Linked DNA regions of Homo sapiens: regions 1, 3 and 4 are each linked to region 2. Evidence: promoter capture Hi-C in 16 types of primary human blood cells and fetal thymus (Javierre and others, 2016). All regions are on one chromosome and are shown on one strand. Each heading gives the region's core, a stretch centred on a gene start or on the middle of the fragment in contact. The rest is flanking DNA. Distances are from core to core; before and after follow the strand shown. Region 1 has its middle 72 kb from the start of FAM136A. Region 2 holds the start of TGFA (transforming growth factor alpha). Region 3 holds the start of FIGLA (folliculogenesis specific bHLH transcription factor). Region 4 has its middle 71 kb from the start of TGFA-IT1.

The links. The method cuts DNA at HindIII sites, captures the fragments that hold promoters and counts their contacts. A CHiCAGO score of 5 or more calls a contact.
Region 1: a contact is called between a fragment that was not itself captured here and the fragment with the promoter of TGFA in region 2, in 2 of 17 cell types (M2 macrophages and M0 macrophages). The highest score is 6.0, in M2 macrophages.
Region 3: a contact is called between the fragment with the promoter of FIGLA here and the fragment with the promoter of TGFA in region 2, in 3 of 17 cell types (M2 macrophages, naive CD8 T cells and naive B cells). The highest score is 5.9, in M2 macrophages.
Region 4: a contact is called between a fragment that was not itself captured here and the fragment with the promoter of TGFA in region 2, in 2 of 17 cell types (M1 macrophages and M2 macrophages). The highest score is 5.4, in M1 macrophages.

What each region holds. Positions count from the first base shown.
Region 1 is chr2:70,372,893-70,375,592 of GRCh38, reverse strand. No RefSeq gene overlaps it. Among named protein-coding and RNA genes, the nearest start is that of FAM136A, 72 kb to the right of the region's middle. The HindIII fragment of the contact is 6,977 bases long and covers 1-2,700 here.
Region 2 is chr2:70,552,545-70,555,276 of GRCh38, reverse strand. TGFA (transforming growth factor alpha) reads left to right here and starts at 1,451. Exons shown (of 6, transcript NM_003236.4): 1 at 1,451-1,549. The coding sequence starts at 1,510. LOC124907824 (a long non-coding RNA gene) reads right to left here and starts at 2,569. Exons shown (of 2, transcript XR_007086906.1): 1 at 1,885-2,569. RefSeq lists a silencer at 1,321-1,390. The HindIII fragment of the contact is 13,094 bases long and covers 1-2,732 here.
Region 3 is chr2:70,789,279-70,791,978 of GRCh38, reverse strand. FIGLA (folliculogenesis specific bHLH transcription factor) reads left to right here and starts at 1,336. Exons shown (of 5, transcript NM_001004311.3): 1 at 1,336-1,571. The coding sequence starts at 1,341. The HindIII fragment of the contact is 3,375 bases long and covers 1-1,897 here.
Region 4 is chr2:70,409,260-70,411,960 of GRCh38, reverse strand. No RefSeq gene overlaps it. Among named protein-coding and RNA genes, the nearest start is that of TGFA-IT1, 71 kb to the left of the region's middle. The HindIII fragment of the contact is 2,132 bases long and covers 214-2,345 here.

The DNA of each region.
Region 1 (2,700 bases), core at 164-2,663, 180 kb after region 2:
TCACGTTGTGTACCTTAAATATATACAATTTTATTCATCAGGTATAGCTCAATAAAGCTGAAAATTTTTAAATAATAGGCTGGCATGGTGGCTCACACCTGTAATCCCAGCACTTTGGGAAGCCAAGGCAGGAGGATCACTTGAGGCTAGGGGTTTGAGACCAGCCTGGGCTGACCTCATAGCATAGCAAGACCTCGTGTCTATAAAAAAATTAAAAAATTAGCCTGGCATAGTGCTGTGTGCCTGTAGTCTCAGCTACTCAGGAGGCTGAGGTAAGAGGGTCCCTTGAGCCTACGGGTTTGAGGCTACAGTAAGCTATGATCATGCCATTGCACTCTAGCCTGGGCGACTGAGTGAGACAGTCTCAAAAAGTACCAGTTCACATGTATTATTTAGGAGATGTACAGTCTGTGGAGTATCAGGCTGACTTACAGCTTTAGGTAAACATTAAACACTCAAATGTAAATTTGGGCTCAGGAGTGAGATATAGAATGGAAATGTGGGTTCAAGAGCCAACCCTTTAGTTGAAGCCACAGGTATGGATGATATGGATGGAGAGAGAGTAGTATCTGGAGGAGTCTAAAGATGGGGAGAGGGTTAATAAGATAGAGGAGACATGAACTATTGGTTATTCTTACCACTCCTACATTTGCAACCTGTCTTCACATCTCTTCCTTCCAAGAAGAATTAGCAAGGGCCAGGGCTGCAAAGAGCACAACATCAGTAATTGACTTTGGTGCCAATGCAGGCTGCAGCTGTGTCTGTAAACAATACAGTTCAGGATTTGTCACAGATGGTGCCAGCCAACGAGAACGTGCCTAGGGAGTCAAAGCAGGGTATCTTAGTACATTTTCTGTTGCTTATAATAGAATACCTGAAACTGGGTAATTTACAAAGCAAAGAAATGTATTTCTTGCAGTTGTGGAGGCTAAGAAGTCCAAGGTTGAGGAGCTGTGTCTGGTGAGAGCTTTCTGGGGTCTCTGCAGAGTCCTGAAACACAGGGTATCACATGGTGAGGGTGCTGAGCATGCTAACAAGCTCAGGTCTCTTCCTTTTCTTTTAAAGCCATCAGTCCCACCGGGCACAGTGGCTCATGCCTGTGATCCCAGCACTCTGGGAGGCCAAGGCAGGAGGATCACCTGAGGTCAGGAGTTCCAGACCAACCTGGCCAACATGACAAAACCCCATCTCTACTAAAAATACAAAAAGTAGCTGGGCATGGTGGTGGGCTACCTGTAATCCCAGCTACTCATAAGGCTGAGGCAGGAGAATCATCACTTGAACCTGGGAGGCAGAGGTTGCTGTGAGCTGAGATCGCACCATTGCACTCCAGCCTAGGCAACAAGAGCGAAACTCTGTCTCAAAAAAAATAAAGCCACCAGTTCCACTTCCATGATAATTCATTAATCCATTAGCCCATTAACCCATGAATCCATTGATTCACGAATGTATTAATCCATTCATAAGGGCAGCATCCTCATAATCCAATCATCTCTTAAAGGTCCCACCTCTCAACTGGGGAATAAATTCCAACAGGAGTTTTGGAGAAAACATTCAACCCATAGCATGGGGTTTGCTATTTTTTCAGTAGTTAATATTATATGTCAGTTATTTTCTAATAAAAATTGGATGATATACATATTTAACTGCTATATATATGTATATAGCGATTCTCCTGCCTCAGCCTCCTCCCAAGTAGCTGGGATTACAGGCATGCACCACCATGCCCAGCTAATTTTTGTATTTTTAGTAGAGACATGGTTTCACCATATTGGTCAAGCTGGTCTCGAGCTCCTGACCTCAGGTGATCCGCCTGCCTTGGCCTCCCAAAGTGCTGGGATTACAGGCGTGAGCCACCATGCCGGCCCCCAAAATATTTTTATACATAGCTTAATTCATACAATATGAGTACATGGTAAATTTGGCATAAACACTGAAAATTATGCACCCCCTTTTGATGAATACCCCAATTTACACCTAAGTAAAGCACCTAATTTAGGAAATTTATGTTTGGATATGATTTTGTTGTTTCAAGAGTAAATGTTATGGTGTGATTTTATTGTAAATTGTTCAATATGTGGTATGCTAAAAAGTATTTTCTATTAAAGATACTCAGTTAAATAGATAAATAATGAAATAGCCTAGATAAATTGTATATGAAAAATAAGATTGAGACATGATTAAAGAAGAATGCCTGTTAAACTAAAACTCAACAGAAATGAGACCTAAACCAATGAGAATGGAAAGAAATAATATAGAGTGTTGGGATGATTGGTTAGTTAGTTGCAAAATAAATCAATTTAGGTCCTTACCTTGTACTATATATCAGATATAACATATATCAAAATCAATTCCAGAATTATTAAGCTAAATGGAAAAAATCAAATCATACCTGATATAATGATTAATATGTACCAACTTGACTGGACCATAGGATGCCCAGATATTTGGCCAAACATTACTCTGGCTGTTTCTGTGAGGGTGTTTTCGGATGTGATTAACATTTAAATCAGTAGACTGAGTAAAGCAGATCCCCCCACTCTTCCATAATGTGAGTGGGCCTTACCCAATCAGTAGAAGGTCTGAATAGACTAAAAGGCTGACCCTCTCCCAAGCAAGAGTGCCTTCTCCTATCTGACAGATCTTCAAACAGGACCATCAGCTCTTCCTGGTTCTACAGCAGCCTACTGGTCTTCAGAC
Region 2 (2,732 bases), core at 202-2,701:
TGGGAGTCAGGGACAACCTACTAAAGGAAGTGCATGTGTGCCTTGTACATGCATGGGGTGGACCAAGGAAAAGATTTACCCTAAAAGAACAAAGTATGCTCCGACAAATCTATTGAAAGGAATGATTTACACTGGTGCTTCCTGCCCAAATGTTGAGACCAATGGCCTGGTGCTTCCTTCTTGAAACTAGGTTGCTCTACTTACATGAAACAAACTGGGCAGAGGTCAACCGTGAGAGCCTGAGCCTCCCCAAGTAAACAGCAAAAGATTCCCCAGGCCCAACAGCCCCCACCCCCACCTTCAAGGAAAGTGGATCTACCCGGAGCACGTAGGCCAGAGGAGGCAGGAGAAGAGGGTCAGTCCGTGAGCTCCGGGTACCTGGAGAACATGAATCTCCCGGGTGTACTGTCCCCATGAGGGTCACCGAGGAACCTATGGATCTTCCACTCTTCGCCCAGAATGTCTTCCCTCTATCCCCTCCACCTCCCCAAATTCCAGCACCAGGGGCCACCTCAGAGCCACAAATCCTGAAAGGACCACCCAGGTGACTCGGGCCCACACACCCCTCTTTCGGGGTACACTTGGTGGCAGGCTAGCAGGCTTTTGGCCTCAGCTGGTGGTGCCATATAACCAGATTCGTCACAGAGACCCATTTTTTATCAGTCCCAGGCCAGAAGTACGAAGACTGATCTTAACGATGTGGCCTGCCTGGGAGGTAAGGCGGCAGGCGTTGCCAGAATTGATGGGAACTGTGGCACAGGTGGGAAACCTGGTTTAACAAATTCTTCATTGATTCAGGGGACCACTTTCCTTGAGCCAAGTCTTGGCAAGCGGCCGGCGAAACTCACAGGTCCCTTTCCTGGCTGCGTCCCCAGCCTCCAGCCTTCCCCGCCCCAGAGATGCCCCAGGAGCGGCCCCTCGGTGTAGGTAACGGGTGCCCGGGCGGCTCCGCTCCGCCGCCTAGAGCCTGGAAGCCGCCACTGCGGCCCAGGACAATCCGGCTACGCGGCCGGCGCCGACCCCGCACGCTGGAGTCCGCTGCCGCACGGCGCTGGCAGTCGGGGGTGGTGTCTGAAGTCAGGCGCTTCCTGCCTTTTCGTCGGCCCGGGTGCCCGGCTCGCGCCGCCAGGCTCTGGGATCCCAGGTCGCCCCGCCCAGCAGCCCGCGCCCTGCTCGGTGCGCTCAGCGTCCCCGCCCCTTACCCCAAACCCCCACCCTCTGTGCCCTCAGGGGGGCACCCCCATCGGGGCGGGAGGGGGGGGTCAGCTGTGCCCCGGTCGCCGAGTGGCGAGGAGGTGACGGTAGCCGCCTTCCTATTTCCGCCCGGCGGGCAGCGCTGCGGGGCGAGTGCCAGCAGAGAGGCGCTCGGTCCTCCCTCCGCCCTCCCGCGCCGGGGGCAGGCCCTGCCTAGTCTGCGTCTTTTTCCCCCGCACCGCGGCGCCGCTCCGCCACTCGGGCACCGCAGGTAGGGCAGGAGGCTGGAGAGCCTGCTGCCCGCCCGCCCGTAAAATGGTCCCCTCGGCTGGACAGCTCGCCCTGTTCGCTCTGGGTACGTACGCCGGCTGCGGCGCCCCCTGCGCCGCGCGACACCCTGCTTCCCCCGGTCCCCGCCGAGTTCCCCTTTCCGGGGGTTTCTGCGCCCGCCTGGGAGAGTGGAGAGAAGCGAGTAGTCTCAATGGGTTGGCGCCTGGGAGGCAAGGGGAGTCATTAAGAATGACAAAGAGGGGACTGTCCGGTCGAGCGCCGAGGCTTCCCCGGGAAAGTGGCTGCCTGGGCCGTGCGTGAGAACACCTGGGAAGGGGAAGCGGAGTGTGAACGGGCTTGAACTTTAATCCGCCGCAGCTGTGTGTCTGCTCAGACACATGCCTACACCTACCTGCTTACCTGGCTGCCTCCAAGCCCGGCTCAGCCGGCGTCGCTGGCGTGTAGACTGGGCCGCCTCGGAACGGGGGCCGGCGTCTAACCCTCTGGCCGGGTCTTGCCTGCGCCCCTTTGGCACCCCCTGCCCACCTCTAAGCCCCAGCGACGAGCAGAGATGTTCAAGATCGGCAGAGGCGCCCTCGATCTCTTTTCAGAGCTCTTGAGCTTTGGGGGTAGGTTTTGGATTTTTGGGCGGATTAATGGTTCCTTTAATTAACTTCCCTGGGAGAAGTGGTTTCGGTGTCCGCCGAGGGCAGGAGCGAAACCCTAGACCGAGTGTTGCCAGTTTCCTTTGAGTATGTCCTTGGAAATGAAGGAGGGATGGGAAAGGTGAGGGGAAGTTAAACCCCTCTCCCGGGTCGGGTCTGCGGAGCGGTGCGTTTTTTGGCGGTGAAGTTCAAGGGTCTGTCTGGACGCGGTGAGGGCGCAGCGCCGCGCGCCTCCTGGCCAATTCTTGCCCCTTGTGCTGGTGGGTCTCTCTGGTGTTGAGATAGCTGATCAATAGCGCAGGTGTCCTGGTTATTGCTAGTCTTCCGTGAAGTGAATTGTTCGTTCGATATGCCCCGAGTTTAACCCGTATAGCATGCGGCTCGCTGCAGGGTGGTTAGAGTCTGTGGAAAGCCATGGAACTCCTCCCCAGAAATGCCCAGAGCCGCAGCCTCACCCAGCTCCGTGTACAACTACAGGGGGTTCGCGGCCCCGCCTGCAAGCCTGCCCTAGAAACGCTGATTAAAAACCGCAGCAGAAGGGGAGGCATCCTGTAAGAGAAATACAAGGCAGTCTTGGAACCGGATGCTCCCAGCTACACCCTT
Region 3 (2,700 bases), core at 87-2,586, 240 kb before region 2:
TGGTTGTGTTGCGGTTATGTGGAAGAGAGGCCTTGTTTAGGGGGAATACCCACTGGAGTATTTAGAGGTGATATGACAGCATGTCTGCAACTTAAAAACTTTAAAAAAAGAATAGATCAATGGATGCAGCTAGACGTCATTATTGTAAGGGAACTAACACAGAAACAGAAAACCAAACATTGCCTGTTCTCACTTTATAAGTGTGAGCTAAACATTGAATACACAGGGACACAAAGATGGAAACAATAGACACTGGGGTCTGCTTGAGGGGGAAGTAAGAGGGGGGCGTGGGTTGGAAGGATACCTATTGGGTACTAGGCTCACTACTTACGCCACGGGATCATTCGTACACCAAACCTCAGCAACACACAATTTACCCACTTAACAAACCTGCACATATACCCCTGAACCTGAAACAAAAGCGTAGAAAAAATATTTTCTCAGACCAAAGAAAAAAAAATGTATTTCTATGCTTGGAAGGAATGATTTTACAGAGGGCTTCCAGAAACATGTCTGATTTTCAGGTGCAAGATCAGAATGTTCCAGTTATATTGATAACCTCCAGAGAAACAAACTCTCATGAGTAATCTACTCAAAACAGAAGATGTAGTTAATTATTTCTAGAGTACTAAATTGTACTCTACTATTAAACAAGTTTGGGATCGCTATTTTCCAGCACATTTTCTGAAGTAACAACTGTGTTTGGCTGTGTTGACAATAAAGGTCTGTGTGGAAAAGGGGGAAAATGAATAAAGCGATGTATCCCCCCACTCGCGAAAAAAGAAAATAGTTCAAATAGAATGGAAAAAGAATAATGAAAATGAGAATATTCACAGCGAGAAAGAGGGCAACGGAGCAAACGTGAAAACTTAGCAAGTAGAGAGCGTGGCGAAGGGGGTACAGGAGCTCTTAGAAACTCTTCTTGCCATTTTCCCCGCAACTTTTATTTCAAAACGAATTCTTAAAAAAGTTTTGTGGATATCCATCACATTTTTCTGTATACACATAGCCAGAAGCTCAGGCCCCAAGACAGATTGATTAAATGGGAATTTGGGGGACTGGAACCGTGGCATGTGGATTGAGAAAAACACCACTACCACGCTCCCGGCGGTTCCAGGTGTGCAGCCGGGGCTGCGCTCCAGCGCTCCCGAGTCACACCTGTGCGGCTTATTCAACGCGATGCCTGGACGCAGCCTCCAGAGAGGAGGCCGGGATTGGAATACGCAGCCGGGGAATGGTTGCAGGTGGTCCAGCTCCCGCCCCCGCCCCGCCCCCGCCCGGGCCTCGTGCGGCCCCGGGTGCGCAGGTGAAAGCCCGGCCTCAGCGGCCTCGGCCCTGCCATGGACCCCGCGCCCGGCGTCCTAGATCCCCGCGCCGCGCCGCCCGCGCTCCTGGGCACCCCGCAAGCCGAGGTGCTGGAGGACGTGTTGCGGGAGCAGTTCGGGCCGCTGCCCCAGCTGGCCGCTGTCTGCCGGCTCAAGCGGCTGCCCTCGGGCGGCTACTCGTCCACTGAAAACCTCCAGTTGGTGCTGGAGCGGCGGCGTGTGGCCAACGCCAAGGAGCGTGAGCGGGTGAGGGATCCCTAGGGTCGACGTCCGTTCCCCCCTTCCCTGCTCTACCACCAAACACCTGGTCAACACCCGGGGGTCCGCTCACCGCCCACCCCCGCTCGAGGCGACTTCGAGCTCCCGAGGCCTCCCACGCCCCCAGCTTGTCAGGAGAATGGCAGTGGCCTCCTTCTTCTGCACCTCCGTGCAGCTGCTCGTTGGCGGCCGCTGCGGTGGCCGCCTCGCCCGCTAACCCTCCAGGATTTGTGCAGGACCCGGGTCTGGGAGGGGACAGAGGAGGGGCCCTGACAACTTCAAAAATGTCTCCCTGGGCAGGTGCTTTAAAAGCTTCGCGCCCAGGGGGTGCGCCTTCATCTCACACCGTAGGCGCTGGTGGGTGCTTGGGACGCGCAGGGATCCCCTTCGCTCCTTTTTCTTGCTCTCTGCATCTCGGCCTCGAAGCACACACGAGGGTGAGGAGAAAGGGGGGCCTGACGGAAGTGACTTTTCTTTTTTAAAGTAACGAAACACGACGTCCCAGTGTGCACCCAAGACTCCCACTCAACTCTGTCAAGATAAAGTGAGTGTTTCCCAGTCGAGCCGCAGCAACTCGCAAACGGGAAGGGTCCTGTGGGCCGTGGTTGGAGCGGCACCTGCTGGTAGATTTTACTATCTAACGAAACTCAGCCCCAAACTTGGGAGACATGGTCTCCTTCCTAGCGTTTGCAGTCTACGGGTTTGGTTGCAGCAGAGGCGAATCCAGGAGAGAGAAGGGTGAGGGGTAGAAGAGGGAGCAGAGCGCACGTTCAGGACTGGGACTGGGGAGAGAAGTACCGCCCGGGGCTGTTCCTAGGCCTTTCAGAAATGTCCCAGTGAATCAAGTAGGAGCTTTGCAGGGAGAGGGCAAGCGCAGAAAGGACGACAGGAGAGTAGGAGACTTCTTTAAGTCTCCTCTTTTACCAGTACTAGACTCTTGATGGACAGAACCCTGTGATCTGATTCGGTGGCCCTACAAAGAGATTATGATCTAATAGTTTAAGTGGTCCTTCCCACCAGGAAGGAATTGTCTTCTCCAGAGAATCAGTCCTGGTTTTATCCACTAAAACACGAATAAGCTTTATTATTCTTTATAATGATAAGGTTAACACACTTG
Region 4 (2,701 bases), core at 30-2,529, 140 kb after region 2:
TTCCAAGACAGGACTCTGCCTGGATTGCAGGGGTCACTCACAGGGAACTGAAACAAGAGCCAAGTGTCATTGAGGTCCTATAAGCATTCCCAAGGACCGGGTGAGTCGTCTATCCTTAGCAGCAGGCATTTGTTCTTCACAAGGGAGCAAATCTGGTTGGGTCAATTTGTCAGCATGCAATTCAGAACCCCGTGGAAATGCTCTTTCCAAGCTTCCCTTCTGGGAGGGTGTAGTCAGTGGACAGCCTCTAGCGGCTGCACCTCAGGATCCACCACAGCCTTCACAAGCCCCACACCGAATGGGCTACTCCCAGTCAGTCACTGAACACAGCAAGGGAAGCAGAGATAGGGCACTGTTTCCTGACAAAGGACTCTTCCAGCAGGCAACCTCATCTGAAGACTCCCCACCCATCCAGCTGAGATTTTTCTCAGATGCCCTGCAGCCTGAGGCTCTTCCTACACAATCCTCCTTTCCCTCTCTCCTTTCTCTGGTGTCAGACGAGCTTCATGGTCTACAGGATCTTTCTGTCTACTCCTGCTTCCTGTCCCCTGTATCCTTCCCAAACATTTCCCTCCAGTACATCTGTTGCTCTTTTAATTCCATCTTGGCATCTGCTTCCTGAAGGGCCCAACTCACATGCCACCTGATATGCAACAGCTTCTTTTATGTTCTTCCTTTATGTCCATGCTTGCTTTGGCCTGGGCACCAACCTTGGTCTAATCAGGTGTCGGGATCGCACAACCCCAGAAATAACTGCTCTTGGAAAAATTAATTCCTGGGGCTCTACCATAGGAGAGGGCTATAGATATGACAATCCAGTAAGGCCAGAATCAACTTTCTTGAAATTCTCCTGCTGGTACTAGCTGTCCCCACAAAACCGTGGTCTCCATATCAGGGTGTGCACATTCCAGGGGCAGCACAAGTCACCCTCCAGAGTGGGGGGAAAATACAAAGACGGCTTATTTTCCATCTTAAAAACAAAAAAGAACTTCAACTCTGCTAACAATTAATGTGCATATAACTTGTAAATAAATATATACTTGCCGGAAGAGTACTGAAAATATTTTACTGTTATGGGTGAACAATTTTTTAAAAGTGGAGAGTAGAGCTTTAGAGTGATAATGAATGAAACTAATCCCTGTTTGACATAATGCTTCCTAACACTTAAAGACAGCTTGTATGTCCTTCCTAAATTATCTCTTCCTCAGAAGAGGTATCCTCAGGTACTTTAGTCGGCACTCAGCTAGCTGAACTCCAAGATCCTTCATCAACCCTAGTTGTTATTTGTTAGTTACCATGAGAAAGTATTTGGCTAGGACTTAGTACCACTAACCTCCATCTCAGGGTTAGTGGCACTAAGTACTAGCCAAATACACACACACATTATATATATATATATACACACATATATGTAATTGTAAGAGCACTTAACAGATTACTGTGTTAAATGTTTAAGAGTACAATACAGTATTGTTAACTATAGGAACAGTGTTGTACAGATCTCTAGAACTTATTTAGCTTGTGTAATTAAGACTATACCTGTTGCAATTAGCAACTCCTCATTTCCTCCTGATAACCACAATTCTGATTCTATAAACATGACTATTTTAGATTCCATATATATATGTAAGATCATGCACTATTTGTCTGTATGTGCCTGGCTTATTTCACTTAGCATAATGTTCTCCAGGTTCTTCTGCATTGTTGAAAATTGAAAGATTTCCTTCTTTTTTAAAGCTGAATAATATTCCATTGTATCTATAAACCATATTTCCTTTCTATTCATTCAACATTGGGCATTTAGGTTGTTTCCACATCTTGGTTATTGTGAATAATGCTGCAGTGAAGTTGGGAGTGCAAATACATTTTTGAGATCCTAATTTGAATTCCTTTGTGTGTATATATATCCAGAAATGGGACTGCTGAATCATATGGTGGTTCTATTTTTAATTTTAGGGAGAGTCTTCATACTGCTTTCCATAGAGGCTGTAACGTTTTGCATTCCCACCAACAGTGTCAAGTACTCCAATTTCTCCATGTATTTTCCAACACTTGTTATCTTTTGTCTTTTTCATAATAGCCATCCTAACAGTGTGGTTTTGATTTGTTTCCCTGATAACTAGTGACGTTCAGCATCTTTTCATATAGCTATTGGCCATTTGTGTGTTGTCTTTGGAGAAATGTCTGTTCAAGTATTTGGCCCATTTTTAAATTGGTTATTAGCTGTTTTCCTTATATATTTTGGAAATTAACCCCTTATTTGATATATGGTTTACAAACATTTTCTCCCATTCTATAGGCTGCCTTTTCACTCTATTAATTACTTCTTTTGATGTGCAGAAGCTTTTTAGTTTGATGCAGTCTCATTGTTCTATTTTTGCCTTTGTTGCCTGTGCTTTTGGGGATATATCCAGAAAATCATGACCCAGACCAATGCATGAAGATTTCTCCTATGTTTTCTTATAGGAGTTTTATAGTTCAGGTCTTACATTTAAGTCTTTCATCTATTTTGAGTTGATTTTTGTGTGTGGTGTAAGATAAAAATCAAATTTTTTTATTGCATGTTGATACCCAGTTTTCCCAACACCATTTATGAAAAAGACTATCCTTTCCCCATTCTGTATTTTTAGCACCTTTGTTGAGGATCAGTTGACCATGCGTGTGTGGATTAATTTCTGCGCTCTTTATTCTGCTCCATTGT